2 separate regions of the Homo sapiens genome follow, and region 2 is linked to region 1. Evidence: promoter capture Hi-C in human tissues and cell types (Jung and others, 2019). All regions are on one chromosome and are shown on one strand. Each heading gives the region's core, a stretch centred on a gene start or on the middle of the fragment in contact. The rest is flanking DNA. Distances are from core to core; before and after follow the strand shown. Region 1 holds the start of CHST6 (carbohydrate sulfotransferase 6). Region 2 overlaps KARS1 (lysyl-tRNA synthetase 1).

Region 1 (7,079 bases), core at 2,739-5,238:
AGGAACACACTGTGCATTTCTTCCTTCTGTTGTGAGCCACTCTTACTCTTTTCAGGGCTCTCTTGTGACAAACATGCCAATCACTAGCACTTTGCACCCCTGGGCTTCTCCATTTCCCATTCACAGCTTTGATTTCCAGAGCTGAGGCCTTTAACTGGAGACCTGGAGGGGCAGGGCCCAAGGGCAAGGGCCGCATTAGCACAGGCAATCAGGGAGGGCCGCTGAAGGACACTTGGACCGTCCACCTGCCCCAGCCCAACAGTCAGTCATCTGTCATCAGCTCAGCTGAGCAGCCCTGGATCCCTGCCCGACTGTGGCTGGCTCTTTGCCCGGTTTTTCCCTCTGTCTGTGCCCCTGGATGGCAGGCTGAAGTCAGAGGGGCTGTTTCATTCTCAGCCCCCTCAGCAGCACTGGGGGAAGAAAGCATTGTCACAACAGGTTCTTTCTGGCCCTCACCCAACAGCCTGGGCACTTGGCCCTCCTCCTCCTTGACAGCCCTCCCCCTTCCTGCAAAGGACAGGGGCGACAGGGGTTGGTGTTGGGATTGGCTCCCGCTGCCTGACAACCACAAGTTTATTTGGAAGGCTAGCGGGAAGCCCAGCGGCTGGCGTTTCCCTTGACTAAGGAAAAGGGTGCCCATCAGAGTGGGGCGGGCAGCTTTGGGAAGGACACAAGAAGCAGTGAGGGTGTAAAGAGGATGCTGGCCTGGGCAGGCCAGTCCAGCCTGGCCACTAGCAGAATACCAAGCAGTCCAGTGGATTATCCTCGTGGCTAAGCAAGTGTCTGCAGGAGCAGAGATGGCTGGAAGGGGCCTCTGCACACGGAAGATGGCTTGTTCAGCCGATTCACCTCCTGAGGATGCGTGCAGTCTCCTCCAAGAACACATGGAGCTGCTTCCTGATCCCAAGCAGGTCGTTGCCCCTGGAAGGACATGGCTCCGGTGATCCATGCTTCATGCCCACCCAGAAACACACCCCTCAGTGTGTGCCTCAGTTTACCTTGGAGATCATTTTTCATCTCCAGCATCCGTTTCCTTTAGGCTGACTAAAAACAGTTTTGGAAACAAAGCTATTTTGAAGTATTCAAGCAGAGGAATTCTCTAACACTGTCCCCCTTGTCTTTTTTTAATATTCTGGCTATTTTAGATGCCTAAATTTTTTTCTTGAGATTTATTTATTTTTATAGATGGGGTTTTCACTATGTTGCCCAGGCTGGTCTTGAACTCCCAACCTCAGGAAATCCTCCTGTCTCAGCCCCACAAAGTGCCAGGAATATAGGCATGGGCCAGTGTGCCCCGTCTCTTGAGACTGAAATGAAAAATTGCTTGTGGTTTAAATCCCCAGAATTTAATGAAACATGGGAAGATGGCTAAAGATACGTATAAACTTTGGTTTGCATTTTATTAAATTATTTGAATGCAAAACTTGTATAAAGAATCCATTATGTTCTGTAGCTTTCTAATTAAAATGTTCAACATGGAAGGTTGTATTAGCTATTTTTGAAGCAAGGCTTTGGAGGGAGGAAGAATAGGGAGGGCTGAAGTTGAGCACACTTCTCCGAGTTACTCACCAGTAGCCTTGCTTTGCCACGGCTCTGCCCAAAGACCTTGGAGCTTTTGTTAGCTCTTTGGCAAAAGTTTCCTGGTCCAACCCCAAGTATATTAGTTTTTAGTGGAATCCACATGGCATATGGGAGCTGCGGGTTGGAAAATTACAACTGTGTCTGGTGAATATCAAATTATTTACGGATCATTTATTGGTAGTTTCTGAAACTGAACCACACAGCATAGTTGCAGGAGGAAGAAAGGTAAGAAATACACAGGATTTTATCAACTGAGCTGAAGCCATAGATAAGTCATATTTGAGATAATTATTGAATTTGTTTTGTGGGAGAGAAATCTCTAATTCTTCCAAATGATTAGTCCAGTTTCTGCCAAAGCAGGTGAGGTGTCTAATGCCCCACTGAGTGCCCATCTTGAAGCTTATTAAAGCAATTCTCTCTCTTTGCGTCCCTCTTACCTTATCCTCCACATCCTTGCCCCCTCTCCTTATTCATGCTTTGTAAAGAGGTTTTGGAGCTTTCTGGCCAGATAACTTCTAAATACTGATTAAGGAAATGTAAATTACATGATCCTAAGGAAAATAATGATTGCCGGCCAATCCCCTACCCAGAGTTATGGTTGGCCTTCTGGCACACATCTTTCTATCCCATACACTATTTCTAACTTTTTAAAAATCATGAACAGGCCGGGCACGGTGGCTCATGCCTGTAATCCGAGCACTTTGGGAGACAGAGGCGGGCAGATCACATCTGAGCTCAGGAGTTCGAGACCAGCCTGGACAACATGGTGAAACCCTGTCTCTACTAAAAGTACAAAAATTAGCCTGGCGTGGTGGTGGGCACCTGTAATCCCAGCTATTCAGGAGGCTGAGGCAAGAGAATCACTTGAACTCGAGAGGCGGAGGTTGCAGTGAGCCTAGATCCTGCCATTGCACTCCAGCCTGGGCTACAAAAGTGAGACTCCATCTGAAAAAAAAATCAGTATCAAAATCATGAACAACACTTATATGAACCCTGTACATAAATCCTTGTTTCTGGTTTATTTCCTTAAGATAGCTCCTAGAAAGGAATTACCAATCCGAAAAGCTTACGACCATTGTCAAGAATCTTAATTCATCTTGCCAAACCACAACCAGGAAGGACTGCTTATTTCTTCTCCCAGCAGCAGGGAGTTCTTGATTAAGATCCCATCACTAATTTGACAAGACCTAGAAATGCTTCATCCTTTTCAGGTGCCTGGGCTCTGCCCTGTTATTTGTAAAGGGGATTTTTTTTTTTTTTTTTTTTGAAACAGTTTCGCTCTGTCGCCCAGGCTGGAGTGCAGTGGTGCAATCTCAGCTCACTGCAACCTCCGCTTCCTGGGCTCAAGCAGTTCTCCTGCCTTAGCCTCCTGAGTAGCTAGGATTACAGGTGCCTGCCACCACGCCCGGCTAATTTTTGTATTTTTAGTAGAGACGGGGTTTCACCCTGTTGGCCAGGCTGGTCTCGAACTCCTGACCTCGTGATCCACCCACTACGGCCCCCCAAAGTGCTGGGATTACAGGCGTGAGACACCGCGCCTGGCCGGATTTTTTTTTTTTTTTTTTGCGAGGGAGTCTCGCTTTGTCGCCCAGGCTGGAGTGCAGTGGTGCGATCTCGGCTCACTGCAAGCTCCGCCTCCCGGGTTCACGCCATTCTCCTGCCTCAGCCTCCCGAGTAGCTGGGACTACAGGTGCCCGCCACCAGGCCTGGCTAATTTTTTTGTATTTTTAGTAGAGACGGGGTTTCACTGTGTTAGCCAGGATGATTTCGATCTCCTGACCTCGTGATCCGCCCGCCTCGGCCTCCCAAAGTGCTGGGATTACAGGCGTGAGCCACCGCGCCCAGCCCTGGCCGGAAATATCTTATTTATTGAAACGTATCATGTCTTTATCTGGACCTGCTATGAACCTGCGCCTCTGGGCCTAGGCTAGGGCAGGGAATGCGCAGGAGGAGGGGAAAAGCTGCGGACCCAGCTCCTAAGGCCACCTGGTCTCTCCGCTCTTCCCAGTTGGGACACTGCACCGGGTCCATGTGTCATCCAGGTGCCGTGGCCTTGGGAAGGGTTTGGATTCCAAGTCACCTCGCCGCAAGGATGCCCCCGAGAGTGAGGAGGGTCAAGATTAAGATTCGACTTCCTTCACTAGGGCCTTTGTCCTCCCAGGAGCCCCCCTTCTCTGGGGATTTGGGGTGGGGTGGGGTACAACGTTCCTCTGTAGTCAGATGAGAGGTGACTCTGCCAGCGCCCTTTGACATTCTGGGCTAAAAGTTGAGCCTCTCAGAGCCCCAGCCCACCTGGGCCCTCCTGCCCCGCCCTCGGCCGGCGCCCCTCCCCCGAGGCGTGGCCCCTCGGTCGGGGGTGGGCCAACCGGCTCCTTCCTTCCCCCACGGCGCTAGCTCCCGCTGGCCACCTCGGGACCGCAGCCACGTCTGAAAGCGCCTCATTGTGTGCGCTCGGGCGGGCTGCACCGGGCAGCGCCGAGGGTTGCCGGCCGGCGCGCGGGGAGTAGAGGGCGCGGGCCGCAGTGCCGGGTTCCAGAGGGAGCTCTGCGCCGGGTCCTTCCCTGTGGTAGCCCCAGGACACCCCCAGCCTCAACATCCCATTCTGGGACTCCTGCCCTGTTCCCACATTCGTTCTACCTCGAGTCTCCAGGAGCTTCCAGTGGCTTGGTCACCGCCAACTCTCGTCCATGCCTCTTAGAGCCCCTTTCCCGGCCTCACCGGGTGTCGCTTAATAGTCTTGGGACCTTAAGGAGCAAGTCAGCCCCTGCGGACCCTCCCAGTGAAGAGAAAGAGCTGGCTGTGCGGTGGAATTTGGAAGAGACGACGTTTGGGAGCCTTTGCTGAGTCCAGGGAGAGAGGCGTCCCCCACCGTGCCGCTGCAGCTCGGGCAGAGCCGCCAAGCTTTGGGGTACGTTGGTTCTTCATTCTCCGCGGGGGATGTCCCCACACTCGGGTCGGCTGGGGGCCGGGCTGGTGGCACAGCTGGGGACGCTCCTCTGTCCTGCACCGGGGACCTGGGGTGGCGGGAAGAGCTGGGAGTGGCTTTTCCATCAGCAACGTGGAAAGGGCATCGCCGCTGTTGGCGCCGGTTTGGAAGTGTCTTGCTGGGGCTTCGGCTGCGCAGGAGAATCCTCACTGCGAGGGGAGAACCCCTTTTGTCTCGATACTTGAGTTTCAAAGGACATGACTTTCAAAAGCTCTCCAAGGGCTTTTTCCATAGAATTATTGAGAGACGGTAGCTTGGCGGGTTGATTTGGAACCAGACCCAGGGGAATTGGAGTCCTGCGTCACTGCTTCTGACGGCTTCATCTTGGGCTTCAGGACAGGCCCTCTGGGCCTCAGGACAGGTGCCTAGCAAATGTTGACTTTCCTTTCTCCTCCCTTTTTCACAGAGGCAAGGCAGTCAAGTTTCCCATTTTTGAGGATGGGAAAACTGAGGCCTGAAGAGCAGAAAGGAGTTGGCTGACTTAAACCCACAAGCGAGTAGGCCAAGTACCAGGGCCTCTGAGGGTGCTATGCTGCTCCGGGAGCTGGGGCTGGGCTCCTCTCCAGCCTGAGAGGCCGGAACTTTTCTGGCTTTGTTCTACAAACAGAGTCAACTGGAGTATAGAGAGCCAGAGAGTGACTTGCTCTAAGTCACACCCCTCACTGGTAGTAGAGACAGGATTTGAACCCAATCCGGCTTCAGAAGCCAAGCTTCTAAGGCCAGTCGCAGTGGTTCACGCCTGTAATCCCAGCACTTTGGGAGGCCGAGGCAGGTGGATCACCTGAGGTCAGGAGTTCAAGACCAGCCTGGCCAACATGGTGAAACCCCATCTCTACTAAAAATACAAAAATAAGCTGGGCATGGTGGTGAGTGCCTGTAATCCCAGCTACTTGGGAGGCTGAGGCAGAAGAATCACTTGAACCCAGGAGGCGGAGGTTGCAGTGAGCTGAGATTGCGGTACTTCACTCCAGTCTGGACAACAGCGAGACTCCATCTCAGAAAAAACACAAGCCAGGCCTCTAGCCATGACTTTCCAGCGTCTTCTGTTTTGTTTGCCCTTGTGGGGACCCTGTCTGTGCCTGCCACATTCTGTTGCTGGGGCACTGGGGCACCTGAATCTGGTAGAGCCATTGTCCTTGGGTTTTCCTCATTCAAAGACTTTCCCTTGGATTCATAGAATATAAGTGTGGCCCAGGAAGGAAGATTGCTAAGCAAATACTCATAAGTGCACTATGCGCCAGACTTTGTTCTGCTTTACAAATATCCACTCACTCACTCTTTCAATCAAGCCCATGAGTTGGGTTATATTGTTTCCCCCACTTTACAGATTTTTTTTTTTTTTTTTGATACGGAGTCTCGCTCTGTCACCGAGGCTGGAGTGCAGTGAAAGTGACATAATCTCGGCTCACTGCAACCTCTCCGCATCCCAGGTTCAAGCGATTCTCCTGCCTCAAATTCCTGAGTAGCTGGGATTACAGGCACCCGCCACCACGCCCGGCTAATTTTTGTATTTTTAGTAAAGATGGGGTTTCACTATGTTGGTCAGGCTGGTCTCAAACTCCTGACCTCGTGATCCGCCCTCCTCAGCCTCGCAAAGTGCTGGGATTACAGGTGTGAGCCACCGCACCTGACCTTCCAGATTTTTTTTTAACCAAGCAGGCACAGAAGGAAGTAACTTGCACAAGATCGCTCAGTAAATGGTCAAGTGGGATTCACACTCTTAACCTCAGTGCTCTATACCTACTGTCTTTAATGAGACAGACACCATTCTGCTTCTAGTGTCTTGGGCGGGGAAATGGGTCCAGAAATACATGAACAAGATTGTTCTGGGTAGTGATAATAGTATTAATAATAATTTCTCACTATCACCTATTAGTCAATATTGAAATATATCTGATTACCTCTAGGGTATCTCCTGGCAGATGTTTTTTTCAAATCAGAATCCACACAAGGTCCACATGTTGCATTTGACTATGTGTTTTTTGGTTTTGGTTTTTGTTTTTGTTTTTGTTTGAGATGGAGTCTCTCTCTGTCGCCCAGACTGGAGTGCAGTGGCGTGATCTCAGCTCACTGCAGCTTCGGACTCCTGGCTCCAGTGATTCTCCTGCCTCAGCCTCCTGGGTAGCTAGGATTACAAGCACGTGCCACCACACCTGGCTACTTTTTGTGTATTTAGTAAAGACAGGGTTTCACCATGTTTGGCCAGGCTGGTCTCCAACTCCTGACCTAAGGTGATCTGCCTGTCTTGGCCTCCCAGAGTGCTGGGATTACAGGCGTGAGCCACCGCGCCCGGCCCTGAGTTATTTTCCTATAAAATAGTCTCTTCCTTTTTCTGTCATAGATTTGGAAGTATGATTTACTTTTAAAAAATAAGGTAATTAAAATAAATGGTTAATAAACCAGGGAACATTCCAGATTATCTCTGTAATGAGAGGGCTCTGTCAATACTTAGGGAAACAGGCAAATGTGCTAAAAGCACAGTCCCACTCCGTACCCTGTGTGTGTTGCTGCA
Region 2 (7,079 bases), core at 2,588-5,087, 140 kb before region 1:
AAACAAGGAGCCCTAATACCAAAACCAATAGTCCTTTCTCATTTTCTCTTTAATAAATTCAAATCGTCTCTCCTTAGAGTCTTGAGATGACATGTGGATCTTATTCTAGAAGAGTGCTAAGAACAAAACCTTTGTTTGAACAAATAATTTCTAATGCCAGCTATTTCCCTTTTCTGTCTTTCTGGAGTTTTGTGTGCTCTTGAGATTAATTTGGTTTCTAGTCTTAGTGCTATCCCTAGGACCTTTTTGGATTATCCTTAAGATTGATTTGATTTAAGAGGAGCACCTGGTTGAGTGGAAAACAGATTTATCTTAATTCTAGAAGAACTAGACAGCCTAATCTTAGCAGTCCACTGACTGAATTATAGCATGATAACACCAGCACAGTGTTTTGGAAAGGTTGTCTTTACAAATGTTATAAGACATTATATGTAGAAAAAGCTGTCAACTTTGAAACCATTCAGAATCTGTTTTTCTTTTTTACAAGATGAAAGATTCGGCCAGGCGTGGTGGCTCACGCCTGTAATCCCAGCACTTTGGGAGGCCAAGACAGGCAGATCACGAGGTCAGGAGATCAAGACCATCCTGGCTAACACGGTGAAACCCCATCTTCACTAAAAATACCAAAAAAATTAGCCGGGCATGGTGGCGGGCACCTGTAGTCCCAGCTACTCCGGAGGCTGAGGCAGGAAAATGGTGTGAACCCGGGAGGCAGAGCTTACAGTGATCTGAGATCGCACCACTGCACTCCAGCCTGGGCAACACAGCGAGACTCTGTCTCAAAAAAAAAAAAAAAAGGTGAAAGATTCAAAACCTCAATTCATTTTTTAAAGTTATTCTAAATTCATATCGAAAATGAAGGATGTGTCCTGAAGCCAGAATGTTTGCGGGCATGACTTGGGATCTTCTGCTGTGGTTCACTATTGCAGAATATTTGATTATGTTCAGCGGTTTGAAAGAATGATCCATAAATTGTCTTTGAATAGTAAAGATATCCCTCCCTACACCAATCTGTTTAGTTTCTGGTTTCAGATAGCAAATTCAGACTATAAGAGACATGAACATATCATACAGAACAGCTCAGAGTTGTCCGCATTACTTTGGTTTTTCAGGTTCAAGTGATAAGTATCAAGAGTTTGGATACCAAGTGATTTAACCAGAAATGTATTTAAATCTATATGAGGCACAGAGAGTAAAGGGTTAAGATACTAAAAGATACCTAGAAAGCTCACATTTGGTTAGCTGAATGCCAGGGTCAGGGTAATCCCTTTATACAAACATTATCTCATTACACACCATAACAACTGGTGGGGGTTGTCTATTATTATTTTCGTTTCACAGGTGAGAAGTTAATTCACTCGTCCAAGTCACATAATTGACAAGTGTGTTGGAATTTAGTCCCAGGCAGCCTGACTACAAAGATGGTATATTACCCCCTGTACTATACTGCTTTGCACACCGTTCTATTTTGTTGTCTAAGTCAGGCTCCAGTGGGCAAAGTGAGACTAATGCTGACAGCCATTCTTGGAGAGACTGTTGGTAGGGGAGGTCTCCTTGAGTGCTAAAGAGCCGGCTCTTCCTTACTATCATCCTAACTCACTCTTAGGGGAGGGATAGAGAGAGGGGGTAGCAGAGGGCTGGAGATGTTGCCTTATCATGTATTAGATCTGGCATTGGAGGGGTCAGGTGGCTCACACCTGTAATCCTAGCACTTTGGGAGGCCAAGGTGGGCAGATCACTTGAGGAAAGGAGTTTGAGACCAGTCTGGCCAACGTGGTGAAACCTCGTCTCACTAAAAATACATAAATTAGTTGACTGTGGTGGTACACACCTGTAATCCCAGCTACTCAGGAGGCTGAGGCACGAGAATCTCTTGAAACCCGGGAGGCAGAGATTGCAGTAAGCTGAGATTGTGACTGCACTCCAGCCTGGGCCACAGAGCAAAACTCTGTCTCATAAAAAAAAAAAAAAAAAAAAAAAAAAAAAAAAAAGACCTGGCACTGTTGGAACTTCACCTTCTAGGGGGATACTAAACAACTAAGATTCAGTCACTGTCCTCAAGGAGCTCCCTAACCTAATTAGCTCAAGAAAAGCCTATTCTAATTTTCTAGAAAACCTTTTCTCCTATTCAAAACTAATGCATAGGATTTTCTTTGTCTTGGTACATCTTGGTTTTAGTTGGGACCTAATGCCAAGGACCTGAGACTGGCAAGCAGAGACTGAGAGTGATTTTTCACATCTTTGTTCTAAGCTTATTTTTCCCTTTGTGTCTTTCACATAAAGAGTTTAGTGACAAGCTACTTGAGCTGAGCTGTGGGTGTGGAATTGAGGGGTATAGAACTGAGCAAGAGCGTTTCTCCTGGGCGATTCATGTTTTTGATAAGTTGCTAGGGGCAGAACATAGAGGACTCTTCAGGCAGCTAACACATTGAACGCTTTCATCTTTCCAACAGTGAGCTGAAGAGACGCCTGAAAGCTGAGAAGAAAGTAGCAGAGAAGGAGGCCAAACAGAAAGAGCTCAGTGAGAAACAGCTAAGCCAAGCCACTGCTGCTGCCACCAACCACACCACTGATAATGGTGTGGGTCCTGAGGAAGAGAGCGTGGACCCAAATGTGAGTTCCCTGGGCCACCAGCATGGTTGGGCACAGGAAAGCTTCTGATGAGGCTTCTGGCAGATTCTTTGGGACTGGACAGTAGGAGGGACCAGTACGCCTGAGGTCACTGCCAGGGATAAGGGAGGGTCTCCCACTGCATCTGGTTAAAGGCACAGACCCTGAGTGTTTTTTATGTCAACCCCCAAAAGGCATTTGAGAGAGTCCAGCATTCAAGTGAATTAACCTTCCTTGGAATTAGCTTGACCTTGAGGCCCCAGGGAAAGTGTCTCTCTAAAGATTGCCTGAGGTTTACTTTAGACCAGGGGCTGGCCAACTACAGTCCACCAGCCAAACCCACTCTCCATGCCCCCACTTTATCCTTCCCTCCCTGGTTTTTTGTTTTTGTTTTTGTTTTTTTGAGGCAAAGTCTCATTCTGTCACCCAGGCTGGAGTGCAGTGGTGTGATCTCACTGCAACCTCCGCCTCCCCGGTTCAAGTGATTCTCCTTCCTCAGCCTCCCAAGTAACTGGTATTAGAGGCGCACACCACTACACCCTGTTAATGTTGGCCAGGCTGGTCTTGAACTCCTGGCCTCAAGTGATCCACCCGCCTCGGGCTCCCAGAGTACTAGGATTACAGGCATGAGCCACCACACCTTGCCCCTCCTTGGTTTTACTAGTAAAATTGTATTGGAACACAGCTGTGCTCATTTGTTTACGTATTTCTGAGGCTGCTTTCCCCCTGAAACAGCAGAGTTGAGAAGTTGCATCAGAAAAGCTTTGTGAGAAAGGCTGCTGTAGAGTATTCCTTGTTTACATTCTCCAGGCCCCATGCCTTGGGGAAAAGTCTGATGTGTCGCCAGAGGTAGGAGAGTAGTTAAGAACATAAGCAGTTAAGAACGTAAGTGACTCGACTCACCATGCAAATGTGGTCTACAAAAGTGACAACAAGGCCACCTGTACCAATTAAAAATTAAACTTTTATGATTTTAGGCAGAACTCAGGTTTTTCTTTTTGTTGACTCTTGCATTTTGAAATGCTGGCCTCTGGCCGCCCTGCATATTTTAAGTGCAAATCTCACTCCATATTCAATCCTGTAATGCAGAGGTCTTGGTTAAAGAAAACAATGTATTGGGGTCACTCGGGGGCAGAATACTGCCCTCTGCTAGGTGGGCCCCACTGGTCTGACCAGGTTCAACTTCTGAAGGGCTTTTTTTTTTTTTTTTTTAACAGCAATACTACAAAATCCGCAGTCAAGCAATTCATCAGCTGAAGGTCAATGGGGAAGACCCATACCCACACAAGTTCCATGTAGACATCTCACTCACTGACTTCATCCAAAAATATAGTCACCTGCAGCCTGGGGATCACCTGACTGACATCACCTTAAAGGTGGCAGGTAGGAACTCTCCCTGGCAAATCACTGAACTCCCACAGCAGGTAGGCCTGCGGCTTCAGTAGCACAAGGGAAGGTCTGGGTTGGTCTTGTTCTCAAGTAGCCTGTGTCTGAAGCTACTTTACTAAGGACAGTGCCATTATATCTATACAGAAAGAAGCAGAGCAGCCCTGAGACATGGAATCATATTCCAGATGAGGTAGTGCTACAAAGAGAGGGGCTTTCTCTATAAGGATTCCCTTCATCAGCAAGAATCAGCGGTAGAAGTCTCAGGCTTCTAAGAATTCCAGTCTTTGGCCTAAGAATGCTTTGCACTGAGACAGTATTTCTAGAACATTGCTCTTTTGGAGTTGTAGTATCTTGGGTGAGATCTTCTTTTCCTAAATTTAAAAAACAAAAAAAAAAAATCACATCTTTTCCTTGCCCTCTCCCACCAAATAGTAAAACTATCAGTTGTAGAAAATTTAGAATAGTCAAAGAAGCACAGAGAGAAGGTTTTGATTACGCATAATCCTACCACCCAGAGAGAATTTCTGGCAGGACCTAAATGCCCAAAAGATTTCTTCTTTAAAGTGCAGTGATTTTACTAAAATCTTTTTTTTTTTTTTTTTTTTTGAGATATAGTCTCACTCTGTCTCCCAGGCTGGAATGCAGTGGTGCCATCTCAGCTTACTGCAACCTCTGCCCCCCAGGTTCAAGCAATTCTCTTGCCTCAGCCTCCCGAGTACCTGGGATTACAGGCACCTGCCACCACGCCCGGCTAAGTTTTGTATTTTTAGTAGAGATGGGGCTTCGCCATATTGACCAGGCTGGTCTCGAACTCCTGACCTCAGGTGATCCACCTGCCTCGGCTTCCCAAAGTGCTGGGATTACAGGCGTGAGCCGCCACACCCTGCCACTAAAATATTTATTGATGTTAGTTATTCTAGTTCAGTATTCTCAGATACACAGTGTGCTCTGAGATCTTTTCACATCTGTGTATTCAGATTTTTTTTTATTTTTTTATTTTTATTTTTTTGAGGCGAAGTCTTGCTCTTGTCCCCCAGGCTGTAGTGCAATGGCGCAATCTCGGCTCACTGCAACCTCCGCCTTCCGGGTTCAAGCGATTCTCCTGCCTCAGCCTCCCCAGTAGCTGGGATTACAGGCGCCTGCCACCACGCCCAGCTAATTTTTGTATCTTTAGTAGAGACGGAGTTTCACCATGTTGGCCAGGCTGGTCTTGAACTCCTGACCTCAGGTGATCCACCTGCCACGGCCTTCCAAAGTGCTGGGATTACAGGCATGAGCCGCTGCTCCCAGCAGATCTTTTTTATTTTAATTGTTTGTTTTTATTCTGTTTCTTGCTTTACATTTCCTTTGGGACTTTTATCTGCATACTGGATCATCTTGATTCTTTTCGATAATTGTCACTTTATCTCAAATCCTTTTTATCTTTCTTTATACTTTGATTTTTAAATTTTATCCTCCTTTTCACTTTCTGTTTCTCTTAAGGCATTATTTGTTGTATTTAGTCACTATTATTTCCTTATAGCTTAGTCTGCATTTTCTGAAAGATTTTTTACTTTATTTCTAATTCTTTCATGTGTTATCACCTCATTTCTTAGTTTTTCTAGTTCTAATTTGTGTTCTTTCATGTTTTGCGTCTTTTTCTTCATGTCTTTCAGCTCATTTTTGAATAGTAAGTTAGAATTTTTTGCTTTTCACGGCACGTACTCACTCATAAGTGAGAGTTGAACAATAAGAACACATGGACACAGGGAGGGGAACATCACACACTGGGGCCTGTCAAGGGGCGGGGGGACCGGGGAGGGACAGGGTTAGGACAAATACCTAATGCATGCAGAGCTTAAAACCTAGATGACAGGTTGATAGGTACAGCAAACCACCATGGCACATGTATACCTATATGACAAATCTGCGTGTTCTGCACATGTGTCCCAGAACTTAAAGTAAAATAAAAAAAAAAAAAGGAACTTTTTGTTTTTCTAAGCATGTCTGTCTTGAGTGCTTTTATTTTGTCTAGAGGGGTGTTATTCTCCTTCTATCTCTCCATTTTTAGTTTTTTAAGTAACTTTATATGGTATGTGAGCCCAGTGCTTTTATGTTGCTTACATTTACATGAAATCAGTTTTCCTGAATGTTCAAAGGAAGCACGGTTTCGTTTTTCCAGTGAGCTCCCTCTTGTTTTTGTGGCATGTTCAGAAATACTGCAGCTTGTTTTTTGAGATTTCCTGGTTCTCTTCTTCTTCCTCACTTTTTTTGGGTCTTCTTTTTTTTTTTTTTTTTGGTCTCTTTTTTCCTTGTCCTGTTAGTTTTTACGGTCTTGTCCTAGAAGGGAGCCTGGCTGTTGAGAGGGTTTCTGTGGGCTCTACTCCTCATTCCCTTTAGATTTTTTTTTTTTTTTTTTGAGACTGAGTTTTGCTCTTATTGCCCAGGCTGGAGTGCAATGCCGTGATCTCAGCTCACTGCAACCTCCGCCTCCCAGGTTCAAGCGATTCTCCTGCCTCAGCCTCCCAAGTAGCTGGGATTACAGGCATGCGCCACCACGCCTGGCTAATTCTGTATTTTTTTTTAGTAGAGACAGGGTTTCTCCATGTTGGTCAGGCTGGTCTTGAACTCCCAGCCTTACGTGATCTGCCTGCCTCGGCCTCCCAAAGTCCTGGGATTACAAGCGTGAGCCACAGCACCTGGCCTCCTTTAGATCTTCTTAATGCAACCCTCACCTGTATGGAAACGGACACATCCCCTCCCTGTTTCAGCTGCTCTCCCCCAGTGAGCCTGGAGGAAAAGGTTCACATTTTCCAGAGGATACCTTTGGCCATTTGGGGGCTTTCCAGTTCTCAGATCCCTCCCATACCCCATTTCTCCCCACTGCTTTTTCCCCGTATAGAGGTCTTATGGCTCTTGGTGGTTTGCCTCCTTGCTTATATTTGGGGGTCCTTGGCAACGTCTTCCCACAGCATTTTGTTGTAAATTTTGTCCATGGATTTTTCGCTTCGCCTCTCTAGCTGTGCTTTCTATTTTTATGTGAGGATTCAGGGAAATCCAAAAACTATGCTGCTACCAGCACCACCATCTTCTAGGCATCC

The links. The method cuts DNA at HindIII sites, captures the fragments that hold promoters and counts their contacts. A contact is called where the count stands out against the background at its distance.
Region 2: a fragment that was not itself captured here is called in contact with the fragment with the promoter of CHST6 in region 1 in 1 of the 25 tissues and cell types used here (H1 embryonic stem cells).

What each region holds. Positions count from the first base shown.
Region 1 is chr16:75,492,350-75,499,428 of GRCh38, reverse strand. CHST6 (carbohydrate sulfotransferase 6) reads left to right here and starts at 3,988. Exons shown (of 3, transcript NM_021615.5): 1 at 3,988-4,489. RefSeq lists a silencer at 3,785-4,114 and an enhancer at 4,415-4,594. The HindIII fragment of the contact is 2,567 bases long and covers 2,314-4,880 here.
Region 2 is chr16:75,637,098-75,644,176 of GRCh38, reverse strand. It overlaps KARS1 (lysyl-tRNA synthetase 1), which reads left to right. Exons shown (of 14, transcript NM_005548.3): 2 at 2,454-2,613; 3 at 3,828-3,993. Among named protein-coding and RNA genes, the nearest start is that of KARS1, 7.0 kb to the left of the region's middle. The HindIII fragment of the contact is 6,726 bases long and covers 475-7,079 here.